Linked DNA regions of Homo sapiens: regions 1, 3, 4, 5, 6 and 7 are each linked to region 2. Evidence: promoter capture Hi-C in 16 types of primary human blood cells and fetal thymus (Javierre and others, 2016). All regions are on one chromosome and are shown on one strand. The core of a region is centred on a gene start or on the middle of the fragment in contact, and the rest is flanking DNA. Distances in the headings are between cores, read along the strand shown. Region 1 overlaps PRAG1 (PEAK1 related, kinase-activating pseudokinase 1). Region 2 holds the start of MFHAS1 (multifunctional ROCO family signaling regulator 1). Region 3 has its middle 18 kb from the start of FAM85B. Region 4 overlaps PRAG1 (PEAK1 related, kinase-activating pseudokinase 1). Region 5 has its middle 36 kb from the start of FAM85B. Region 6 has its middle 64 kb from the start of FAM85B. Region 7 overlaps PRAG1 (PEAK1 related, kinase-activating pseudokinase 1).

Region 1 (2,700 bases), core at 38-2,537, 570 kb after region 2:
GGGCGGGCCGTGGGGGCCCTGGAGCATCATTTCGCACGGGCAGCTGTTCCACTTCATTAGCTCTCCAGTCTAGACGAAATACAGTCATCTGGGGATCCGCAGGAGGGGGAGTGGGTCTCCCTTCCCAGCCAGCGAGCTGCCTGTCTGAGGCTGAGCGCATTTTATCTGCACATGTTAAACAGGGAGCCGGCACTGAAGGCAGACGGAGCCTCGTTTGCGGTCGCGGAGTCCTAGTTAACAATAGCAGGCTCACACCTGCTCCTTGCTGATGCTGGAACCTACTACTTTGGGCTCAGCGCCCTGCAGCAGTGAGGAGATAAAGCTGGTTCTTGTAGCTCCACCGCATGAATAGGTGACAGGAAAAAAAAAATCATTAGTTGTGTGTGCGTCTTCGAAGCAGTTTCATTTCTCAGCCATCTAGACAGAATTCTAGTTTGGTAATTAGGGCCCCGTTTTAAGCTGCTGGGCCTTTTTTATTTAACAGACATGATTTAGCCCAGACTTTCGCCCGTGAATGAGGCCCTGACTCCAAAGTTTAAATGAGTCCTGGCTCAGCAAAACGTTAGAAACTTGAGCTGAACCAAGAGTCTATGTAAAGTTCTAGAGCTAAAAATCCGAGTGCAGGGCCCCCTGAAAATGAAATGAGGTTGGTTGGGGGCAGGGAGTAGGGAGATGGAGATGGAGAAAAAGCCACTCCCTCCCCCACCGCCCCTTCCCCCACCCAGTGCTGTGGAATGATCTCCGGCGCGGGCCTACAGCTCACTCACAGGGCTAGTTAGCATGCGCCCAACGCAGCCTTCTCCGTTGCTGGCCTTTGAGGAAGCTGCGGGTCTTGCCAAAGGCCCAGTGCACTGATTTTGAAATGCATCCAGCCCAGTTGCCATTTACTCTGCTCCTTCATTTACATCTCTGTGCAAAATGTCAGCAGCCTGACTGGAGCTCCAGGCCTCAAGTGTTTGCTGGGCCCAGGCTTTTCATACCCCTGAGAAAAAGGAGCCTTGGAAACTCTTCCCAGGCCCCTGGGCAGCTGTGCTCTTCGGGTTTGCACAATACCTGCAGGCCAGCTCTGGATGCCTCCGCATCACCAGAGGGCTACAGCCGAGATGGCAAGAGCAGTCACCATAGCAACCTTCCCCATTGTGCTTGCCCTGGGCTGGGCCTGGCGCTGAGAGCCATGCCTGCATCATTTCATCTGATCCTCACAATGGCCCTACGAGGAAGGACTATCCCTGCCCCTGTCATTCAGAGGAGAAAACATGCTTTGAGATAAATACCGTCCATCTTCATTATTTATGGATTCTGTATTTGCAAAATCATCTACCCGCTCAAATTTATGTGTAATTCCAAAATCAATACTCGAAGCGCTTTCCAGTGATTTCTGGATACGTGTAAGGGAAGGAAAAATTTGAGTCACCTGATGTTTAGTTCTCACGATGCTAATAAAGACATACCTGAGACTGGGTAATTTACAAGGGAAAGAGATTTAATTGACTCACAGTTCAGCATGGCTGGGGAAGCCTCAGGAAACTTACAATCATGGTGAAAGGGGAAGCAAACACGTCCTTCTTCACATGGTGGCAGCAAGGAGAAGCCAAGCAAAAGGGGCAAAAGCAGCCAGGTGCAGTGGCTCATGCCTGTAATTCCAGCACTTTGGGAGGCCAAGGCAGGTAGATCACGAGGTCAGGAGTTCAAGACCAGCCTGGCCAACATGGTGAAACTTCATCTCTACTAAAAAATGAACAATACAAAAATTAGTCAGGTGTGGTGGTAGGCACCTGTAATCCCAGCCACTTGGGAGGCTGAGGCAGGAGAATCACTTGAAGCCAGGAGGTGGAGATTGCAGTGAGCCAAGATGCGCCACTGCACTCCAGCCTGGGCAACAGAGCAAGACTCTATCTCAAAAAAAAAAAAAAAGGGAGGGAAAAGAAAACCCCTTATAAAGCCATCAGATCTCATGAGAACTCACTCACTATCATGAGAACATCACCAGGTTCCTCCCACCACACGTGGGGATTATGAGAACTACAAGATGAGATTCGTTTGGGGACACAGCCAAACCATATCACCCAATGTGCATGTTTCCAGCTGAAGGGGAATGAGGCGACAGTCTCCCATCTTGTTTCAGCCCTCATCCTGGAAGCCAGGGTCATTTTTTGCAGTCTATTTAGTGTCTTGTTTTTCACATTTGTGTGCTTTTTGTTTGTTAATGAAAAGAGTCCAACTCTGTAAAATATTAGATTTATTCTGAGCCAAATATAAGTCACCTATGGCCCATGACACAGCCCTCAGGAGATCCTGAGACCATGTTCCCAAAGTGGTCAGGCCACAACTTGGTTTTGTACATTTTAGGGAGACACAGTTATCAATCAATACATGTATGATGTACATTGAAGTTGAGGGGGCCGGGGGAGCTTCCAAGTCGTCGGTGGATTCAAAGATTTTCTGATTGGCACTTGGTTGAGAGAGTTATTATCAATAGAAAGGAATGTCTGGATTATGAGAAGGGGTTATGGAGACCAAGACTTTATCATGCAGACGAAGCCTCCAGGTAGCAGGCTTGAGTGAGAACACATTGTAAATATTTTTATCAGACTTGAAGAGACTGCCCTATCAGTAATCCCAACAGGGAGGAGGGTAGCATGAGGCATGTCCAGCGCCCCCTTCCCATCATGGCCTGAACTCATTTTTTTATGTTCACTT
Region 2 (2,700 bases), core at 39-2,538:
CCTAACAGCAATAAAAATAAGCATTAGAGTTGAACAATGGACTGTGACTGTTTCCCAAAATAGCTGTTTTCTTGAGTCCGCAGAACAACAGGTACTGTATTAATGGGGATACAGTATTTGTTTCACAGCGTTGTTGTGAAGATAAACGGGATACCCCAGATAAACAGCTTGTGTCCCCCCCATCTTAACAACCCTCCTTTAGGCTGGCGGGCCACCTGCTCAAAAGCCTTCCCCAGGGGGGTTAAAACCGTCTTTTAGTAGTTCTGGTACGGGTGGGCTGGGGGAGATCCTCTAAAGCCAGTGCGACCTTGACCCCAGCCAATGTCCAGGCTCTTGACACATCCAGAGAATGAGTTCAAGGACAACTCAGAAAATAGTGACAATATGCAGATTTATTGCAAAGGGAAAAGTACACACCCAGGAAAAGGGATTGTGGAGAGGGTCACTCACAACGGGGCTTGGGGCTGCTACCTTTATGGGTTTCTTTAACCAAGGGGTGAAATATTCATGAAAATTCCTGGAAAAGTGTGGAGATTTTTCGGGACTGTGGTGCCACCCATTTTTACTTCAAATATGGGTGTCCCCGGAATTGTCATGGCACTGGTGTGACTTAGGATGTTAAAGAGCGTATAATGGAGGCCTAGGAGAAACCTAGGTCAAATCCAGGACCACGTCGGGTCCAGCCGGTCTTAGCCAGCTTGGTACACACCCTGGTTTTCAGGGTCTTATCAGCCCATAGCCTCCAGTCAAGTGAAACTGCTGCCTGGTATTTTTTATTCTCCTCTGACCAGCCTGCATTACTCCTGTCCCATGTTCAACACGAAATAGGGCCTCAGGAAATATTTACCAAATGAATGAATGGTTGCCTGTTCTAATTTTGTTTAACCACACTCTTGTCCTAAGCTTCTATGATGATACCCAGGGCCCCCGAGTTGTGCCAGTTCCACTACGGCGTGGATGCAAGGCGAGCGGCAGGGGAGCAGGTAAAGGATGAGTAAGGGAAGCCGGCGGATCCGACGCATTAGAGAACAAGAAAAAGAAATCCTTAGAGACTGGGGGCCAACAAAGAGCCAGGCGCGGGCGAACCCACCAGGGGGGCCCCGGAGCCCCACATCCGCCGCTGGGACGACCTCCCCGCCCAGCATGGTCCGGGGCGCGGACCCGGCCCCGCGCCAGGCGCCCCCGGCCCCGCACCCGGCGCCCTCCGCAGCTCCCGCCCCCGGGGCGGTGCCGGGAAAACGCGGCGCCTCCGCCGGTCACGTGGGGGCCGCTCCGGCGGGCGGCGCTGCCGCTTCCCAATCGCGCCCTCCCAGCGCCGGGGACGCGGCGCCCGCGCTCCCGCCCGAGCCCGGGGAAACGGAGACAAGGAGGCGCCGCCGCCCCCTCCCCGCGGCTGCGCCCCAGCCCTGCGCCCGCAGCATGCCCGCCGCCGGGCCGAGCGCCGCCCTCCCCCAGGAGCTCGAGGAGGCGACGCCGCTGCCGGCCGCGGGACCGCGGCTGCGAGGGTAGCGGGGCCGGAGCCGGGCCCCCCGAGGCGCCGCGCGGCGGGCGGAGAGGGAGGAGGAGCAGGCATCCTCCGCGGCGCGCGGGCGGCGGCCCTGCTGCCCGGCGCGCCCATGGCCCGGCCGCAGGGAGAATGCAAGCTGCTCTCCACGCGCTCGGCGTCCCCCGGAGCCGCTCGCGTCGCCGCCGCCCCCTAGCCGCCAGCGCTCGGCCGCTGGCTGCGCTAGGACCCGCGGCCGCCGGCCGCCGAGCGCGGGAGGGCAGGCAGGGGCAGGAGCCGGAGGGCCCGGGGCGCGGCGCGGCATGTAGCTGCGGGCTCCCGCGTCCGCGTGAGGCTGTCGGCCCGGGGCCCCGCCATGGCTGGGATGGACAGTGGCAACCTGAAGACCGCGAGGCTGTGGCGGGACGCCGCCCTGCGTGCCAGGAAGCTGCGGAGCAACCTGCGCCAGCTCACGCTTACCGCCGCCGGGGCCTGCCCCGGGGCCGGGGCCGACGCGCTCGAGTCCCCCGCCTCCCCCCAGCTCGTGCTGCCGGCCAACCTCGGGGACATTGAGGCACTGAACCTGGGGAACAACGGCCTGGAGGAGGTACCCGAGGGGCTGGGGTCGGCGCTGGGCAGCCTGCGCGTCCTGGTCCTGCGCAGGAACCGCTTCGCCCGGCTGCCCCCGGCGGTGGCCGAGCTCGGCCACCACCTCACCGAGCTGGACGTGAGCCACAACCGGCTGACCGCCCTGGGCGCGGAGGTGGTGAGTGCTCTGAGGGAGCTGCGGAAGCTCAACCTCAGCCACAACCAGCTGCCCGCCCTGCCCGCCCAGCTGGGCGCTCTCGCTCACCTGGAGGAGCTGGATGTCAGCTTTAACCGGCTGGCGCACCTGCCTGACTCCCTCTCCTGCCTCTCCCGCCTGCGCACCCTGGACGTGGATCACAACCAGCTCACTGCCTTCCCCCGGCAGCTGCTGCAGCTGGTGGCCCTGGAGGAGCTGGACGTGTCCAGCAACCGGCTGCGGGGCCTGCCTGAGGATATCAGTGCCCTGCGTGCCCTCAAGATCCTCTGGCTGAGTGGGGCCGAGCTTGGCACGCTGCCCGCCGGCTTCTGCGAGCTGGCCAGTTTGGAGAGCCTCATGCTAGACAACAACGGGCTGCAGGCTCTGCCCGCCCAGTTCAGCTGCCTGCAGCGGCTCAAAATGCTCAACCTCT
Region 3 (2,700 bases), core at 176-2,675, 650 kb after region 2:
TGACCTAACAGGACAGAAGAAGTTAAGGCCAGTGGCCTGTATGAGGCACAGCTGATGAAACTGGTTTGTCTTGCTCTGAAGATCACCTACAGGGTTCAAAGCTTGAAGCCACTATATTCTGTGAGCAGACAGATGAGGCAATGGGCTGCAAACTGAGTGGATTCAAATTCCGTTCACCCAGCTACTCACATGGGAGTCAGGAGGTTCACACTCAGGACAGTTTCAGTCCCAAGGCTCTGAGCTCAGGGATAGCAGTCCCAGTATAGACCAGGAGAAGAGAGGATGGGAAATGAGGGAAGATCCACACACTGAATGGCAGGTCTTCAGCCTCTCATGGACTGCTCCCATGCTCCTTTCTGGAGAAGCCGAAGAGTACAACCATCACAAGTCCCTCAGGAAGAAGGCTGGCTAACTGGTGAGCCTTCTGTGAAGCCAGCCTTCAACAAACCCAGCCTTGTTTGTTTAGGTTTTTCTCTAAAATATGAATAGATGGTCAAAGTGAAGCGGCATCATATTCTGGGGTAAATACCCGAGATTTGTTGTCTCACGGCCATGGAAAACTAGGACACAGATACACCAAGAGTGAGCTTAAGGCGGAAGTTTAATAGGCGACAGAAAGAGAAGATCTCTCTCTGCTGCAGAGAGAGGGGTCCTGAATGGGTTTCCACTTCCATGGTGAAATGCAGAGCGTTTTATAGATGAGCTTGAGGAGGTGGTGTCTGTTTTACATATGGCATGAAAGATTGGTTGGACCAGGTGTGCCATTTTACTGGGTGTGAAAAGGTGGCTGCCCACCCTAATCTTTTATTATGCAGATGGTTCTCTACCTGGCGAGTGCCATGTTGCCTGTTTCTTTACTGTACACATGGTGACAAAGAAAAGGGAGGATGGAGCCTCCATGTTGAACATGCCTGGCCCCAGGTAGCCTTTTCCTCGTGGACAGCTGCCGTCATTCACCCGTGGAAGCTTCCAGCTTGCTCACCTATATTTGCAGCTCGATTTTTTCAGGCTGCTCTTTGTTAGAAAAGAACAATTTCTTGGGCTGCTTTTTGTCAGAAGGGAAGCATTGTCGAGGACTCTTTTACCATCACTATCCGCCCAAATAATTTCTTTCTGCCTTCCGTATCAAGAGGTCATCACACATTTCAGGAAAGTCATCACCATGAAAAATGGAAACCAAAACCAACTTAGTGGAAACAAAAGACGCAGGAGACGGTAAAAAGCTACACTTAAATCAGAAGAGCATGTTATGTAAAGATAAATAAGTAAATTTTAAAAAGTAAAGACCTCTTCAAAGTTTATAAAGATGGTAACTGAAGTAACAATTCATTATAAATTTTGAAGGCTAAAGTTGAAGAATTTTCATAAATGTTAAACATTTTTTTAAAAACTAGGCGTTGCTCTGAACCTACTCTGGTTCTAGGGATACCTGATTCTCCGGTTGTTTTTTGCTCAATTAAACTCTGTCAAATTTAATTTGTCTAAAGTTTTTCTTTTATCAGATGGTATTGTAAGTTTCTTGTATCGGTTTGAACCTCGAGAGCGCGCCAACAGACAACACGACAGTGTGGAGCAACATGCTGTTTTAATGAGAGCCTGGGTGCTGGCGGGCTGAGGCCTAAAACGGCGTCAGCCCCAAGTGAGGATGGGGCAAAGGTTTTATAGTCTCCTGTAAACAGGAAGTGTCCTGGTCTGACGTAACTGCAACGTTGTACCCAGATGGCCTCTTTCTCCATCTTCAGAGGTACTTGTCTTCCGGCTGGCTCTCTTCCTGCTTTTGCTATCTTGCTGGCGCATCTGCTCACGCACGCTGCTGATGCAAGCGGCCTTGCGCCCTGGGGCTGGGCCTGAGAAGGGAGGAGTTGCTCAACCCCTTAAGCTTTCAGGCCCTGGAGAGAATCTTACAATATCAGAAGTGGGATTCACATAGCGCTTCCCGTGACCCTCCAGGAATATCAAGTGACCCAGCAAGGTACTGTAACCACCCTATGGGTTCATTTTGCCCCCTGCCCAGGTAGAGACAATTTATCAAGACAGGAAAATTGCAATAGAGAAAGAGCTTAATTCATGCAGAGCTGGCTGAACAGAAGACTGGAGTTTTATTATTACCCAAATCAGTCTCCCGGAAAATTTGGAAGCCAGACTTTTTCAATGATAGTTGGGGAAAGAGAGGGGAGGTGACTAGGCAATAGGTTCTTGCTGCTGGTTGGTTGGGGGTACAATCACAGGGATGTTGGAGATGGTCCTCATGCACGCTGAGCCACTTCTGGATGGGGCCGCGGGAGTGGTTGGCAGGTCTGGGTGGAGCCATCAGTCATCAGACAAGCAAAAACCTGAAAAGACATCCGAAAAGGCTGATCGTGGGTTCTACAATAGTGATGTGATTTGCAGGAGTAATTGGGGAAGTTCCATGTCTTGTGACCTCCAGAATAATGGCAGGTAATCATTTATGTCTACACCTTAGCAGAAATCAGGCTCCTCCCATCCTCTTACCCTGGCGGTCTCTCATCAGCTTTACAAATGTGGTTGAGCTTTGGAGAAGAGCTATTATCATTTAAACTATAAACTAAATGTCTCCCAAAGTTAGCTTGGCCCATGCCCAGGAAGAATGAAGGGCAGTTTGAAGGGTACAGGCAAGATGTGGGATGGTTAAATTTTCTCACTGTTAGAATTTTTGCAGAGGGAGTTCAGTACTCGCCT
Region 4 (2,700 bases), core at 110-2,609, 550 kb after region 2:
GTCCTGTGTGTGAGTTTACCAATCTACAGTCTCACAAACAGTGTGAGAGAGTTCCTATTTCCCTATATCTTTAACAAAATCTGACGTTGTCAGTCTGATCTGATGGGTATGAAATGAAATCTTGTTTTATTTACAATCTGATCATTCATAATTTTAATAATCTTTTCATGTGTTGAGTGGCCTTTCTTGTTTCATTTGTGAGTTGCCTGTTCATTTCCATTTTAAAAATGGGGTCATTTGTCTGTTTCTTAGATTTATAGGCACTCTTTTTTATTCTGCCTACCAGTACTTTATTAGTAATGCGGGTTGCAAAGATGTGAGTTGGCCACTCCAAGGTTTGTTTTTTTTCACTTTTTAATGGTGACTTTTATGTTATGAGGCAGAAGTTTTAAATTTTAAAGTAGTCAGATTTATCTTTTTCTTTATATTGCTATTTTTTAGCCCTTATTTTAAAAATTATTTCCTACCCCAAGTTCATAAAGTTTTCTCGTTATTTTTTCTGATGAATTTAAAATTTAATGGGTGTTTCTTTTCTGTTGAAAATTCGTGTTTCTACACGGTATGAGATATGGCTCTACTTTCTTTTTTTCTTCACATCATAAATAGCTGGTGTAAGTACCATGAATTGACTTGTTAATCCTCCAGTCTGTTTCTTGGGTCTGTGTCCTGGAAATGTTGGTCCTAGATTTATCAGAACCAGATCTTTACTGATCTCATTTATACAGCAACTGGTCCTTGATGGTTTTACAGGGTAGTTTTCGCAATCTTTCAGAGAACACATAATGTTTCTCTTATAAAAATTACCTGAGATAAGGCCGGGCGCGGTGGCTCACTCCTGTAATCCCAGTACTTTGGGAGGCCGAGGCGGGCAGATCACGAGGTCAGGGGGTCGAGACCATCCTGGCTAACACGGTGAAACCCCGTCTCTACTAAAAATACAAAAAAATTAGCGGGGCGTGGTGGTGGGCGCCTCCTGTAGTCCCAGCTACTCGGGAGGCTGAGGCAGGAGAATGGCGTGAACCCGGGAGGCGTAGCTTGCATGAGCCAAGATGGTGCCACTGCACTCCAGCCTGGGCAACAGAGCAAGACTCCATCTCAAAAAAAAAAAAAAAATTACATGAGATAATTGAAAAAGTGAAAGTTACTCAATTCATTTTATAATTCCTTTTCTTTTTTTTGAGACACAGTTTCACTCTGTCACCCAGGCTGGAGTGCAATGGCACCATCTCGGCTCACTGCAACCTCCGCCTCCTTGGTTCAAGCGATTCTACTGCCTCAGTCTCCCAAGTAGCTGGGATTACAGGCGCAGGCCACTATGCCTGGCTAATTTTTGTATGATTAGTAGAGATGGGGTTGGCCTGTTGGCCAGGCCGGTCTCGAACTCCCTACCTCAAGTGATCTGCCCGCCTTGACCTCCCAAAGTGCTGGGATTACAGGAGGGAGCCACCGTATCCGGCCGTCATTTTATAATTCTATTTTAACCTTTATATCCAAATTGGACAAGGACAGGACAAGAAAGAAAAATTATGGGCTAGCCTCTATTTGAATGTAAATGTAAAAATCTTAAACTAAATATGAGTAAAACTGAATCCAGCAATGTGTAGTAAAATAAGTTCATACAACATGTGCAAGGATGGCTTAATTAAGAAAAGCTATTAACATAACTCATCACATTCACAGAGTAAAGGAGAAACATGATATGATTTTTTTCCCATAGATGTAGAAAAGGCATTTAATAAACCCTAATAGCCAAAAATGATTTTGAAATACAAAACCTTAGAAAACTTGAAATAGAAATAAACATCCTTAGCCTGATAAAGTGCGTCTACTGAAATCTGTAGTAAATATACGCTTAGTATTGAAGGATCCCTTGTACTGCCTGTGTGTGGAGTTCCCTCTTTGTATCTGGCACCTGAGAATTGTTCTTTCTTTTAATCTTGGCTGTTACTTTAAGTAAGTATGTGTGTGTGTGTGCATATGTATATGAATATATATATATGCTCATACATACACATGTTTATGTATTTTTTGGTTTTGTCTATTTACATACATTTCATGAAGTTTGTGGAGTGGGAAGCTGTGCCAGCTCTGTAGCCATGGTGCTGTAGTTTCTCCCTTAGTGATTTTCTGGGCCTGAAGACCAAGAAACTCTAGAAACCACTTTGGAAGGGGCAAAGTAGGGGATAGCCACAGAGCTGGCTCTGGCTTCTCTCCTAGACTGAGGAGTTGTTATGCATGACTTCATATCCTGGCTTCCCTTGGAGAAAACTATTAGTGATAGATCTGATGTGGATATAAGAATATTGTATGAAACTGTCTGATTTTATTTTGCCAGGAGATTAGGCAAGGATCAGCTACTGCCATAGCATTTCCTAAGGAATTGATATTTCCAAGGTTCCCACAGCGATACTGAGATACAAAGATGAAGATTAGTCATAATGTTGCCTTCACTGTCACATTTTTTTTTTTGACAGATTTAACACAGTTTAAAAGTACGATTCTAAGGGTTGGGAGTGGGGAGAGGGACGTGTTTTCAAGGAGCACTTTTTGTGGTAGCGAACAAACTTTAAACCCTCCTGTTGATACACAGGGGATTCCCGTGACTATGAAAATTAAAACAGGGCCTGGCAATGTTGAACACAAAGAACAGCCAATAAATTCTTGACCGTAAGGTCATGCGCATTAAATAAGGCAGTTCTG
Region 5 (2,700 bases), core at 86-2,585, 630 kb after region 2:
ACAGCCCCATCTCAACAGAACTTACAATCTAATAATAGCAGGCAAATGCATAACAAATACATTCACTAATGCAAAAGAATTAGAACAGAATTGTGCTCCGTGTCACAGAATTATGTTCTGGGACCAACGGGGGCACTAAGGAAGAAAGGACAGACGTTCCCGTGAGTGGTGATCTCATGAGAGTAATTATTAAACCAGAAATGTGTCCTGCCCAGGAGTGGCTCCTTTAGAGCAATGACAGATCTAGTTACACTTGAAATTAGGAGAGAGGGGCCGGGCGCAGTGGCTCACGACTGTAATCCCAGCACTTTGGGAGGCTGAGGCAGGTGGATCACGAGGTCAGGAGATCGAGACCATGCTGGCTAACACGATGAAACCCCGTCTCTACTAAAAATACAAAAAAATTAGCTGGTCGTGGTGGCGGGCGCCTGTAGTCCCAGCTACTCGGGAGGCTGAGGCAGGAGAATGGTGTGAACCCTGGAGGTGGAGCTTGCAGTGAGCTGAGATCTCCCCACTGCACTCCAGCCTGGGCGACAGAGTGAGACTCTGTCTCAAAAAAAAAAAAGAAGAAAGAAATTAGGAGAGAGGATGAGCTTTTGTTGTAGCATCAAAAGAGATGGGCAATAATGAGGAAAAATAGCTTTACAATGAAAGTTATTCCAAAAATTATTTGCTATAAATGGTATAGAATCTTCTTTCTTAGAGAAAGGATACACTGTCATCTGGCTGGGGTGGCTTAACTATGTTCACTAAGGTTCTCAAGACTGCTAAACTGTTATTTTTGCAAAAACACAATAACTTTAAAAATTGGCTGTAAGCATGCCTGCTTAAGCACTCTAAATGCAAACAATTACTGCTTATATAACAGTGACTCATACCCTATGGTGTCACCTAAAACCTGACTATTCTCCAAAGCTTTCTAGTTATAGATGGAAATTCTCATACTTAAAAACTTGTAACTTACAAGCCATCACAGGTGCAAAGCTATTTTCCAGAGCAAAAGCATATCAACTCCGTCTGGCAACAAGACATGCAGTAACAATTATGCACCATCCTTTTAGTTCAAATATACTTTTGCCCGAGGCATTAGCCATTATTCTAGTGTGTATTTGCTATGTTTACACTTAGTTTTGAGATACTTTATGAACATTTACTCCAGTGTCTCAAATAAATGCAAAAACAATAAAGCTTGTAAAAAAAAATACTAGATTGAAGAAGCGGACAATCACAAATGAAACAAAAGTAGAAATATGGTATTAGAAAAAATTTTAAGAAAATGATATGTGCGTAAGACGTTTCTCTTTGGCTCATAGGAATAATTCAGTATGACAAAGCAATTTGTAGAAACTGCTGCTCTAATCATCTTTAGCAAAAGATGAGAAAGAATAACTACCAAAATGGAAAAAAAAAACAGAACAAAAAACCACAGTGAGCGTGGCAAAATTTAATGAAGAAGAAGCCTGGAAGATTATCCAAAGCTTCAGCATGGTAAAAGTAGCCAGGCACTAGGGTGGCCAGCCACACTTGTAGGTGCCTAGGTCTTTTCAGATCTGCATAATGCAAAAGTCACTGGTGACATGTCCATCACAAGCAAAAGTGAGTGGTGACACATCCATCACAAGCAAAAGTCAGTGGTGACATGTCCAACACAGATGGGGCAGCGGTTCTCTGTTGGTAGACTCCGTCCCATACAGGGGAACAAGGCTTAGTGATTAGAACAAGGCTGCAATCCGGCTTCCATTTGCCACCTCAGTTGGGTGGCCAACCTGCATCTACAAATTGCTTGCTAGAAAACTCCTCACAACACAAGTGGCACTCATCCTGAAGTGGGGATACCTACCCAAAATATTTTTGTTATAGTGAAAATCGATCTGGTTTGGAAACAGATGCCAAGTGGAACTTACAATATCAAGGAGGAAAAGACTCTGATTGTAAAGCTCTTAGAAGAACAATTCACTGTCCTACTGGATGATAATGCAGTGAGGAACCACAATCACAAGCCTCTTGTAGCCATAAGAACCTACATGGGGGAAATTGGCTTATTTACAAATTTTTAGGTATGGTTGGTGGTAGGCAAACATGTTCACCAGCAATTCCTTCTACCACTGGTTGCATGCGCCGTTTCTTCCATTAAGAAATGAAGTCTATTTCCTTTCCCCTTGAACCTGGCCAGATCTTTTAACTTGCTTTACTTGCTTTGATTTCTCCCCCTAAAAGAATATAACAGAAACGACACTCTTGAACCTCCGAGCCCAGGACTTAAGATTGACAGTTTCTTCTTTCTCCCTCTTGGAAGCCAGCTGCCATGTACATAGTCCAACTACTCTGAGGTCAATATGCTACAAAGAAGCTCAGGCTACCAAAGGAAAGATCAAATAGAGGAGAACCAAGGAACCCCAGCTATGCCCCCAGCTCATCAGCCAACTAAATGCAGTTGCTACAATGATCCCAGGCAAGACCATCAGGAAAACTTAACTGGTTAACTTATGAAATCAAGAGATATAATATATTGCTTTACTTTTAAGCCACTAAGTTTTTTGGTTGTTTCCTTTGCAGAGCCTAATTAGATCATAAAAGTAGAGGAGCTTTTGTAATAACAGATGTGTGAGCCAAAAAAATATATAAACAGATTCCTCCACAAGATTCCATGGAAACCACAGTGAGTGGCAGGATGGCAATAATCCACACATGAAGAAACAA
Region 6 (2,700 bases), core at 74-2,573, 600 kb after region 2:
TTGACAGTGCTGTCTGAATACATCAACTCTGGGACCCAGACGTGGCTTTGGCAAACAGCAGTCTATTTCCACGAAAACCCAAGTGACTCCCGGGGAAGAAAAATACACACATAAGTAAAACTTGTCCCAAGGGGAAAGAGGAGCAGGCCGGCCCATGTCTTCCAAGACTGAAGAGTCAGTTATCCGGGAGAAGAATGGCTGTGTTTGTCTTTCAGATCTTTCCCTGGTCCAGCCTAGTGGACTCATGCCTGAATCTTATTTTAAATAGAGTAGGGGCTGGGTGCGGTGGTTCACACCTGTAATCCCAGCACTTTGGGAGGCTGAGGCAGGTGGATCACTTAACGTGAGGAGTTCGAGACCAGCCTGGGGAACATGGTGAAACCCCATCTCTACTAAAAATACAAAAATTAGCCAGGTGTGGTGGTGGGAGCCTATAATCCCAGCTACTCAGGAGGCTGAGGTGGCAGAATGAATCGCTTGAACCTGGGAGGTGGAAGTTGCAGTGAGCCGAGATCGTACCACCATACTCCAGCCTGGGCGATAGAGGGAGACTCTGTCTCAAAAAAAAAAAAAAAAAAAAAAAAAAAGAGTAGAGGTAATCATATAATTAAAAGTGAAAATGCCTGTTTCTCAAAACCTTTGGGTATAAGCTTTATACCCAAACTTCTGGACCAGTTTAATGGAGTACAGCCCTCAAAGGGAGGCAAGAATTCTCTCCCACTTTTCCAAGGAATATTATGCAGTTCAGCATCTCCTCCCCAACCCTGAGGTTCCAGTACCTCAGCATCTGCTGTATGGGCTCTAGGGTGTCTGCAGTGAAAGCAGCTAATTGGAGGCAGTGATGTCAAGCAGGGCCAGAGAGGGTGGCAGGGGCTGCAGCACCAGCAGCCAGGCGATGCTCAGCCTGAGCATGGCCAATGCACCCTGTGTAGCATCCAGGAGAGGCAGCACATCCCTACCAGAGCCATGGTACAAAATACAAGCCACCTGGGTATCTGGAAGCGAGGGTGGGGCTTGGTAATAATTACTAAAGCATGCAGCACAGCAACAGCCAAAGAGAAGAAAGGGAAAAAAGTGAAATATGTAATCTTATTCACAAATAAATATAAGAACAAATTCCACTGAATCCCTGAAAACAAAATGTGGGGCGAGGGCAGTAAACGCAACTGACTACTGTAAATGCAACCTCACCTTAAAAGATTACCAACTAGCTAAGCATGGTGGCCCACGCCTGTAATTCAAGCACTTGGAGGCTGAGGTGGGTGGATCATTTGAGGTCAGGAGTACGAGACCAGCCTGGTCAACATGGTGAAACCCCTGTCTCTACTAAAAATACAAAAGTTAGCCAGGTGTGCTGGTGTACATCTGTAATCCCAGCTACTCAGGAGGCTGAGACAGATGAATCGCCGGAATCCGGGAGGCAGAGTTTGCAGTGAGCTGAGATTTGACTATTGCACTCCAGTCTGGGTGACAGAGTGAGATCCCATTTCAAAAAAAAAAAAACAAAAATTACCAACTACTAGCCTTATGGAGCAATATTTAAGTTGTTTTTATTTTGACTTAGACTTTAGGGCTAAATCTATGTTTTAATGAAGAAAAAATGTGTTCATAAATAATTATTTTCCTCAGAAGAAAAACATATTTTCTTTTATCACGTTGCCAGCCCAAAGGAGAGCTCATGTTTAAAAAATCACAGTGTTAGTTTATGACCAGCCTGGGCAACACAGCAAGATCCTGGCTCTACCAGAAAAAAAATTTTTTTTTAATTAGCCAAATGCAGTGGCACATGCCTGTAGCCCCCACTACTCCTCAGGAAGCTGAGGTGGAAGGATCACTTGAACCCAGGAGTCCAAGGCTGCAGTGAGCTATGATCATGCTACTGCACTCCAGCCTGGAAGACAAAGCGAAAACAACAATAACAACGACAACAGCAACAAAAAGCAAAAATCACAGCGTGTCTTAGGACTCATGTTCACTTTCATTTTTTTAAAGCTTTGCTAATTACTGATTAATCTTTTCTATTCCCTGTTGCTTAAACAATATTAGAATGTTTCTGTGCACAAAATCCAAGACTCAAAAACACAAAATAAAATTTGATGGCTTTTAAGTAAAAATTTGTTACTCAACTTATTTTTACCGCGATTTAGATTCATTGTGATGTTGGAGGTATGACCTTATCTATTCATCTGAATGACATTTTGTTTCAACAAAAGGGCAGTGCTCTCAATGTCAAATAATAAGATAGAAATCTTTAATCCCTTTAGTCCTTCTGTATACCTAGGTCATTTTATTTTAGAGTGTATGTGTACAGAGAGTATACTCAACTAACCCTCATAGTGATTACACTGGTTGTACCTAATGCAACAAATACTATTCAACTTTAACAAAATAAGAATTTTATACTGTCTGGCTTATTCTTAATTCTTCCCTAAGGGCCTATTTGGTTTAGCATCAAATACAAGATTAAGAGACTCTAAACGTTAGCTGAACAGCCACTCAAGGGATTTAGACATGATCTCTTTACACAAAAGAGTTAGCATACATCTGATATCCCCTGCACAGAGAACACATGTTTATACATATAATAAATCTCCTTTTCCTACCGATGATTATTTATTTGAAAGCAAAATGAAAAACAACCTTATCGTATCCTCAAAAAAAATCTACGCCGGTAGTGAAAAATTTGGGGCAAGGTAAATG
Region 7 (2,700 bases), core at 91-2,590, 530 kb after region 2:
TAAAGAGAAGAAGAAAAGGGGCCCTGGGCTTGGAAGACAGGGAGGGCAAGACAGATGTTACAGATGTGGGAGGCCAGGTCATTTTAAGAACGAATGTCCTGAATTGGAAAAAGCAGAGGAAGCTCTCCCATTTGTGACTACTTCTGAAGAAGAATAGAGGGGTCAGGGGCTCTGTCTTTTCTATTTCGAGTCCCACCAAGAGCCCTTGATAAATTTAGAGGTGGGACCCAAACATGAATTAATCACCTTTTTGATTGACTCAGGAGCTGCTCACTCATCTGTTGGTTTTCCTCCAGCTGATTTAGCTCGTTCCTCAGAGGAATTGACAGTTTCCAGGGTCAAAGGAGAAGGATTTAAGGCAAAAATTTTAGAAAATATGGAAGTTAAATATCAAGATCAATCGACTTGTATACAATTTTTATTAATTCCTGAAGCAGGAACCAATTTGTTAGTAAGGGATTTAATGATAAATTAGGTATAGGTTTGCAAGTTGGTCCAAAAGGTTTTCTAACCTCTTTAAATTTGTTAACTGCGATAGATGAAAAATACATACATCCAGATGTCTGGTCAAGGAAACTGAGGAAAGCTACGAATTCCTCCAATACATATTTGGTTAAAAACTCCAGGGGAGGTAGTAAGGAGAAAGCAATACCGTATTCCTTTATAAGGAAGAATAGGGTTAAAGCCTGTAATTGAAGGACTTATTAAAGATGGGCTGCTCAAACCTTGTATGTCCTCATCCAATACTCCAATTTTACCAGTCAAGTAATCAGACGGGTCATACTGATTAGTGCAAGACCTTAGAGCTATCAATCAGATAGTCTAGACGACTCATCCTGTTGTACCTAATGCTATTTCTAATTGGCTAGAAGGATGGTCCGGTCAATAGAAAGAAACTGTAGCCTCAATTCTTACTTCTATAGCAACTGTAATAGGCATACTCCTTCTTCTTGGGTGTTGTATTATACCATGCATCTGGGAATTAGTAATAAGATTAACAAAAACAACTCTTACTAAAACCCATCTTAACTCTCCTCCACCTTATTCAGAAAAAATTCTCCTTTTAGAAATTCAATCAGAGCAATTAAGCCAAGAAATATTAAAACAGTTTGAAGAGGAAAAACTATAAAAAAATAAGAGGAGGGAATTGTGAAAAGTAAAAAGTTCCTCTTCAAGCTTACCTTTTTTATTAAGGAATAAATCATAAGTGTTAGAACTAATAGTTTATCTTAAAGACTAGCTTTTAACAATAACTCTTCATTAAACCTTACATAGTCATTAAGTGTAAAAGGATAAGCATTTTATATATACATATACTTTAACTACAATATGAGTTTTGGCTTGCTCAGGCATGTCCCAGGTCACAGCTTATATCCCTTCCTTATTTGGAAATGTTATTGCTTCTATAAGCCTTTATGTAAGCAACTTCCTCTTTTCCTTTGTTTAGCACTGTCTTTACCTATTTAGGAAAGTTTTAGATTGTTAGCCAATTGGGCTAAGCTTAGACTGTGAGGTCCAGCTCCAGCCAGTGGAGGTAGGACAAAGCAATAGGGACTTCACCCATAAGGGATAAATATTCCTGTGTCTCTTTGTTCAGTGTGCTCTCGTGGCAGGATTGCTGATGGGCAGCACCCTTTCTGCAGAAAGTAAAATTGTCTTGCTGAGAAAACTTTTTGTCTGAATGCTGATTCTTCTTTGTAGCACCAAGGAATAAGCATTCCTTTCCAACAGAAATGATGTGTCTTTTTGTATGCTTATGAATTGACTGAGGGCTGGCAGCCCCTTGGTCACTTCAGTAGGGGAGTTGGTCACCTGAAAAACCAAGACAAGATTAGAGGGTTGAGACTTTCAGTCCCACTCCAACCCACAGGGTTGGGGAGAGAGGCTGAAGGTTAAGTTGATCACTAATGGCTGATGCTTTAATTAATCATGACTATGTAATGAGGCCTCCATAAAAACCTAAGAGGACAGAGTTCAGAGAGTTTCTGAATAGCAGAACCTCTGGGGTTTCCTTGAGGGTGGTTTGTCAGAGAGGGCATGGAAGCATCATGCCCCTTCCCACACGCCTTGCCCATGCTTCTCTTCTTCTGTATCCTTTGTGATATACTTTATAATAAACTTGTAAGCATTTCCCTGAGTTCTATGTGCAGCTCTAACAAATTAATTGAACCCAAGGAGGAGATTATGGGAGCCCCAATTTATAATTGATTGATCAGAAGCACAGATAAAACAACCTGGGCTTTGGATTGGCATTGGAAGTAGGGGGAAGTCTTCTGAAACTGAACCCTCAACCTGTGGGATCTGACTCTACCTCTAGGTAGATAGTGTCAGAATTGAATTGAATTTGGTAGCAACCAGCTGGTGTTTGCTGCAGAATTGATTGCTTGCATGGTGTTGGGGTGGACAACTAACAAGATCTGAGGTCACAGAAGTATTTTGTATTGTGACAGTATAGGAGGAACTGAATTTGTTTTTCCCATACATTCACAGAACCATATTGTGTTTATTCATTCGTCTGTTAATGGATACTTAAGTTGCTTCTACATTTTGGCTACTGTGAATAATACTGCTATGAACACAGGTAAGCAAATATCTGTTAGAGACCCTGTTTTCAGTTCTTTGAAATATATACCACAAAGTGGAATTGTTGGCTCATTTGGTGATTCTATTTCTAATTTTTTGAGGAACTGCCTTACTGTT

The links. Contacts are between HindIII fragments. The CHiCAGO score rates a contact against its expected background, and 5 or more counts as called.
Region 1: a fragment that was not itself captured here is called in contact with the fragment with the promoter of MFHAS1 in region 2 in 3 of 17 cell types (activated CD4 T cells, total CD4 T cells and non-activated CD4 T cells); the score reaches 8.5 in activated CD4 T cells.
Region 3: a fragment that was not itself captured here is called in contact with the fragment with the promoter of MFHAS1 in region 2 in 5 of 17 cell types (non-activated CD4 T cells, naive B cells, M1 macrophages and 2 more); the score reaches 6.4 in non-activated CD4 T cells.
Region 4: a contact is called between a fragment that was not itself captured here and the fragment with the promoter of MFHAS1 in region 2, in 6 of 17 cell types (activated CD4 T cells, naive CD4 T cells, total CD4 T cells and 3 more). The highest score is 10.1, in activated CD4 T cells.
Region 5: a fragment that was not itself captured here is called in contact with the fragment with the promoter of MFHAS1 in region 2 in 1 of 17 cell types (M0 macrophages); the score reaches 5.2 in M0 macrophages.
Region 6: a fragment that was not itself captured here is called in contact with the fragment with the promoter of MFHAS1 in region 2 in 3 of 17 cell types (total B cells, naive CD4 T cells and non-activated CD4 T cells); the score reaches 6.5 in total B cells.
Region 7: a fragment that was not itself captured here is called in contact with the fragment with the promoter of MFHAS1 in region 2 in 3 of 17 cell types (non-activated CD4 T cells, M1 macrophages and activated CD4 T cells); the score reaches 8.2 in non-activated CD4 T cells.

The regions. Positions count from the first base shown.
Region 1 is chr8:8,322,536-8,325,235 of GRCh38, reverse strand. The region is part of intron 5 of PRAG1 (PEAK1 related, kinase-activating pseudokinase 1); the gene reads left to right. Among named protein-coding and RNA genes, the nearest start is that of PRAG1, 63 kb to the left of the region's middle. The HindIII fragment of the contact is 6,195 bases long and covers 1-2,700 here.
Region 2 is chr8:8,892,218-8,894,917 of GRCh38, reverse strand. It overlaps MFHAS1 (multifunctional ROCO family signaling regulator 1), which reads left to right and starts at 1,288. Exons shown (of 3, transcript NM_004225.3): 1 at 1,288-2,700. The coding sequence starts at 1,860. RefSeq lists silencers at 1,143-1,392, 1,403-1,682, 1,793-2,062 and an enhancer at 1,907-2,700. The HindIII fragment of the contact is 4,068 bases long and covers 906-2,700 here.
Region 3 is chr8:8,243,732-8,246,431 of GRCh38, reverse strand. It overlaps the pseudogene FAM86B3P and the pseudogene ALG1L13P. Among named protein-coding and RNA genes, the nearest start is that of FAM85B, 18 kb to the right of the region's middle. RefSeq lists an enhancer at 1,332-2,531. The HindIII fragment of the contact is 913 bases long and covers 969-1,881 here.
Region 4 is chr8:8,340,609-8,343,308 of GRCh38, reverse strand. The region is part of intron 3 of PRAG1 (PEAK1 related, kinase-activating pseudokinase 1); the gene reads left to right. Among named protein-coding and RNA genes, the nearest start is that of PRAG1, 44 kb to the left of the region's middle. The HindIII fragment of the contact is 3,665 bases long and covers 1-2,700 here.
Region 5 is chr8:8,262,086-8,264,785 of GRCh38, reverse strand. No RefSeq gene overlaps it. Among named protein-coding and RNA genes, the nearest start is that of FAM85B, 36 kb to the right of the region's middle. The HindIII fragment of the contact is 290 bases long and covers 1,191-1,480 here.
Region 6 is chr8:8,290,003-8,292,702 of GRCh38, reverse strand. No RefSeq gene overlaps it. Among named protein-coding and RNA genes, the nearest start is that of FAM85B, 64 kb to the right of the region's middle. The HindIII fragment of the contact is 1,342 bases long and covers 653-1,994 here.
Region 7 is chr8:8,357,620-8,360,319 of GRCh38, reverse strand. The region is part of intron 3 of PRAG1 (PEAK1 related, kinase-activating pseudokinase 1); the gene reads left to right. Among named protein-coding and RNA genes, the nearest start is that of PRAG1, 27 kb to the left of the region's middle. The HindIII fragment of the contact is 324 bases long and covers 1,179-1,502 here.